Regions from separate parts of the Homo sapiens genome. Here region 1 is linked to region 2. The links are contacts of gene promoters, found by promoter capture Hi-C in blood cells and fetal thymus (Javierre and others, 2016). All regions are on one chromosome and are shown on one strand. The core of a region is centred on a gene start or on the middle of the fragment in contact, and the rest is flanking DNA. Distances in the headings are between cores, read along the strand shown. Region 1 overlaps LOC105379129 (a long non-coding RNA gene). Region 2 holds the start of ARL14EPL (ARF like GTPase 14 effector protein like).

Region 1 (2,801 bases), core at 230-2,729, 720 kb before region 2:
CTTCCTGAATATAGGTTATAATGTTTATACTCCTCCCCCATTCAAATGCAAACTCCACAAGAGATGATGTTTGTTCCATTTACTATTGCATATCTATGCCTGAGGCAGCCCATCTTAGACATCAATTTGAATTTTTTAGATGGATCCATGAAAAAATAAATGAGTATGTATTTTCTAAACTAAAAATTAGGACATATTTGGACAAGTATTTGGAATGAGGGTCAGCTTCAGATATATGGGACAGATAACTTCTAAATATGAGAACAGTTAAATGTCATTTCTTAATAACTATTTTTGTTCCATTGGTGAAGTGAGATGGAGATGACAAAAACACTGGTCATCTAAGGCAAGTCCTAGGTATATACATTTCGCTTATTTTTTTTTCAATAGTAATTTTTTTTTATTATCCTCACTCACTCAGGAATCAACCAAAAACATGACATTGAGCCATCTTTCCTAGGGAAATTACAGGATTTTTCAATTGGGATGGCTCAATGTAGTTATTGACTGTATCTCACAGGTGGGTGGAAGGATGAAGCACTCTTCAATCCAGGGAAGGGCTTGGATAGATTTTTTATTTTATTTTATTTTATTTTATTTATTCATTTATTTATTTATTTATTTATTTATTTATTTATTTATTTATTTATTTTGAGATGGAGTCTTGCTCTGTTGCCCAGGCTGGCGTGCAGTGATGTGATCTTGGCTCATTGCAAGCTCCACCATTCTCCTGCCTCAGCCTCCCCAGTAGCTGGGACCACAGGTGCCTGCCACCAAACCCGGCTAATTTTTTGTATTTTTTTTAGTACAGACGGGGTTTCACCATCTTAGTCAGGATGGCCTCGATCTCCTGTCTTCGTGATCCACCCGCCTTGGCCTCCCAAAGTGCTGGGACTACAGGCGTGAGCCACCGCGCCCGGCTGGATAGATTTTTTTTTTTAGCCACTGCCACAACATGGCACAGGGACCCTGACTGGTGTAATTCAGTTATTCCATAAACATTATTTATTCATTCAAACAGCTTTTAATTAGACGATCATTATGTGCCAGTTACAGTGCTTGCTGCTAGGGCTACAAAGCCAAATGAGGCATGGTCGTTGCTCTCAAGCAGCTATCTTGTCAGGGAAGACAGGTCAATAGACCAATAGCTGAAGTCCAGTTTGGCTCAAATAAATACAATGCACAGGGTATTATAGGAATATGCAGTTTGGTATAAATTAGAGTAGTGGGAAGGGGTCTTCAGCAGGGCTTCCTTAAAGAAGTGACACCCAAGCTTAGTTTTCAAGGACCAGACGCAGTTAGCTGTATTAATTCCACTATTAGCAGTAGTAATAGTGGAAAGGAAGACAGCTTCTTAGGAGAGAAAACCTGAGATAGAGAGCACGGAGAAATGATATACAATAGTTTGTTTAGGGAACTAGAAGAAATTCAGCATGGCTATAACAAAGCATGATGCCATTTGATGTAGCAGCGAGGAGACTCTCACTGAATTTGAGAGAGCTGACCGGTTCATTCATCTACTCCTCACTCTCACAACCTGAGCCCCAATGAATAATTCTTTCTTTGCACACAAGACAAAACTAGAGATAGTAGAAAAGAAATTTTTAGTATGAACGACAGTTATGGCAAATGCAGTCTTACAAATTGGCATGAGCTTCTATTACTAGTTTTCTAGGAAAAATAATTGAAGCTTGTCATAGAGACCAGGCAAAGGCTCTAATAAGAATACTTTGCATCTGCAGTGAGATGCTTTTGCACCCGTAGAAACCAGAGCCTAAAGGAAAGGCTTATGTGCTGCTATCTGTTTTGGGAGTTACATTCCCAGGGAAACAGAAGTGAGGGAAAAGGGGCAAACATGAGGGAAGTTTGAGTCAGCCTCTTGTTGGCAACAAGTATAGTTCATGTTGCATCTCATGGGATGTGCTCAGTAAGGCCAAATGAACTTTACATATCAAGGCAGCCCACCAGGGGAGAGGAAGGGAAAACAATTTATCTGCCAGTCCATTTCATTCTACATATGCCCCTGGTCAAGAGTCTGCCCATGGGCATTAACTCCCCGGGAAGATGTGACCCGGGCTTTCCAGGTCCCCAGGGGAAGCTAAGGTTATACTACTTGAAGTGGGCATTGCCACTCATTACCTTTGAGCCCATTTTATATTTGGAGAGTTTCCTGATTTCTGAGAGTTCGTTCTTCAAAGATGAAGTCAGAAACTCTCCTGACATCTTCAATTTGAGGATCTAGTGTCCAGGTTCTGCCAATTAGACCCATCTTATTGAGACCTCCATGCTGGAGTGAGTGAGGCATCTCACAGAATCCATCATGGCAGATAGAGGGAGAGGCTCTACCTTCCAGAGATGTTGCCAGAGGTTCTAGGCAGAGTTTCCAGTGTCCGCCACTCGGGGCAAAAGCTGGGTTGTCTGTGCCCAGGCACAGCAGCAATAGAGTGCCCCCTGGAACCATCTGTGTAACTTTCATATGGCTCCCAGCCTCAGAGCAGCCATGGTTTATTCTGTAGCCCTCACTGAGATTCCAAGAACTGCTTAAAATCTTTAATACAATTCCTTTTGCTGCCTAAACTACCTAGGGGGAGTTTCATTGTCTGAAATCAAGAACTCTGAAAGATTCATGTAGCCTAAAAATAAATTTTGGGTTGCCTTCAAGTTATGACATGCTTCTAATCCTAAATCTGCTTGCTTATGTGAAACAGATTCCATTAATTTTTATACTATATCCTAGAACCATAGAATTCTTGAATTTAGATGTAGAAGTGTCCTTTTAGAGCCCATTTTATTTTATCATT
Region 2 (2,700 bases), core at 113-2,612:
TGGAATAAATAGAAATTTTATTCCATTTAATAAGATGAAATGACAAACTACATTGTTACTCTTGTTATACTTCTAACAAAACTGCATAACATGAATCTAATAATGAAGAAAAAACAAACTGAGGGACATGTCACAAAAATAATATCCAAGTCTCAAGGTCATGAAAGTCAAGGAAAGACAGAGGATCTGTTCTAGACTGAAGGAGCTTAGAGACATGACAACTGAATGTAGTGTGTGGTCCTGAACTGGTTCCTTTCGCCATAAAAGACTAACATTACTGGGACAATTGGCAAAACTTGGGTGGAGTCTGAAGATTAGATGCTATCATTGTTAATTTCTCAACTTTGATGGCTTGTTGTATTTATGTAGAAAATATTTTGGTTGTAAGAAATATACATGAAGGAGTGAAGCAGTAACCTATTGATTCAGGAAAAAAAATATTTTTATAGTAACTCCAGCTTTTCTGTAAGTTTCTGAATAAATTAAACTTAAGATAAATAAAGTTTATCATCTATTTGTTACTGGAACTGCAATGCACTTTCATTTCAAGTCACTTTTTTCTTTCAAATTTGGTAATGGCCACAGCCACAATCCTGAAGTTATCTACTAAGCATTTTAATAATTATGCCCAAGTTGGAAATTCAAGTTGTCCGAAAAGACTTAATTTCTTGTTTCAGTCAACGCTTCCCATCTTCAACCAGAGGAACTAAAAACTAAAAATTTTAAAATGTGTTACTCTAAATTAACAAAGCTATATAAATGAAAAATAAATGTAAGTCATTACACTTTTAAATAAAACTTGTTTGAAACTTTTATATAAAAGTCTGTAGTGTTTATACTTCTAAAAATATTAAATCTTACAATTTCACTAAGCCTTTTGGGAAGACTTTTACATATACATGGGTGAATCATGTAACTTGAAATTATTATGCTAACAACTTGACTTAGTCCATGTTACAGTTATAGCTAATAATATTTTACCATTTTGTATAATCAGTACACGTCTAGATGTATAGTAAAGTAGTCTTCCCTTAGCTGCAGTTTCATTTTCCACAGTTTCAGTTACTCGGGGTCAACTATAGTTCAAAAATATTACATCACTACCCTGTGTTTTGGGGCCACTATTAAGTACAATAAGGGTCACTTGAACACAAGCACTGCAATACTGCAACAGTTGCTCTAATCGCCAAGGTGACTACGTGGTGACTCATTGCCATCCAGTGGGCCGAAGCAGGAGGGCAAGAGATTTCATCGCACCACTCAGAACAGTGCACAGTTTGAAACTTAAGAGTTGTTTATTTCTGGAATTTTCCATCTACGTCACAATACCTGTGTTATTGCCCTCACTTCATCCCATCACGTAGCCATTTGACCATTTTACATCATCATAAGAAGCGTGAGTACAGTACAATAAGATATTTTGAAAGAGAAAGATACCATATTTGCATATTTTTAATTACAATGTATTGTTATAATTGTTCTATTTTATTGTTAGTTACTGTTGTTAATTTCTTACTGTGCCTAATTTATAAATTAACTTTATCTTAAGTACATATGTACAGGAAAAACCGTAGTGTATATAGAGTAGGATACTATCCATGGTTTCAGGCATCCACTGGGGACCTTGGAAGGTAGCATATAATTCCTGATACATAGCTGTGTATTCTGAGTTTTTTGTTGTGGTGGTTTTTGTTTTTGTTTTTTTGAAACAGGGTGTCAGTCTGTCAATGCAGGCTGGAGTGCAGTGCTGCCATCTCCGCTCGCCGCAGCCTCGACTTCCTGGGCTCAGGTGATTCTCCCACCTCAGCCTCCTGAGTAGCTGGGACTACAGGTGTGCACCACCATGCCTGGACAATTTTTTGTATTTTTAGTTGAGATGGGGTTTCACCATGTTGCCTGGGCTGGTCTTGAGCTCCTGGGCTCAAGTGATCCACCTGCCTCAGCCTGCCAAAGTGCTGGGATTCCAGGTGTGAGCCCCCACACCCGGCCTATAGCTATGTATTCTTAATTGTTACACTCTAGTAGAAGTGAAATAACAACTCTCTGCTAGGTACATATTACCACCTCCTTTTACTACAGGAAATCCCCGACTTACCGTGGTTTGAGTTACTATTTTCATACTTTCCAGTGGTGCAAAAGTGATACAAATTCAATAGTAACCATACTTTGAGTACCTACAGAGCTATTCTATTTTTTTCACTTTTAGTGTAGTATTCCATTAATTACATGAGATTTTCAACATTTTATTATAAAATAGGCTTTGTGTTAGATGATGTTGCCCAACTGGAGGCTAATGTAAGTGTTCTCAGAACATTTGAGGTAGACTATGCTAAGCTATGATGTTTGGTGCATTAAATGCATTTTCAACTTACTATAGGCTTATGGGGACATAACTTCATCATAAATTAAGATCACCTGTAATTTTTTCACTGAAGAAAATCTAACTAGATGAATAAAATTATCTTGATTTGGGTGGTACAACATGACTTCAAAATTCTAAATGGAATTTAGAGGCACAGAATGAAAAAATGAAAAATACAGGTAGATATTATCTACTCTATTTTAAAAATGTAGATCCTTGGATCAAGATTTTCAAAATAATAAGTTGCAGGCTTTTTAGTACAAACTCTTTCTACCCAAGCTATATTCTTAAAAGTATATTATAACTTATTTTGTTTGCTAAAAAGTTTGTTTCGTGAA

What was found. Contacts are between HindIII fragments. The CHiCAGO score rates a contact against its expected background, and 5 or more counts as called.
Region 1: a fragment that was not itself captured here is called in contact with the fragment with the promoter of ARL14EPL in region 2 in 2 of 17 cell types (monocytes and total B cells); the score reaches 6.9 in monocytes.

What each region holds. Positions count from the first base shown.
Region 1 is chr5:115,310,848-115,313,648 of GRCh38, forward strand. All of the region lies in intron 1 of LOC105379129 (a long non-coding RNA gene), which reads left to right. Among named protein-coding and RNA genes, the nearest start is that of CCDC112, 16 kb to the left of the region's middle. The HindIII fragment of the contact is 417 bases long and covers 1,272-1,688 here.
Region 2 is chr5:116,031,110-116,033,809 of GRCh38, forward strand. ARL14EPL (ARF like GTPase 14 effector protein like) reads left to right here and starts at 1,363. Exons shown (of 4, transcript NM_001195581.2): 1 at 1,363-1,396. RefSeq lists an enhancer at 958-1,007. The HindIII fragment of the contact is 15,754 bases long and covers 1-2,700 here.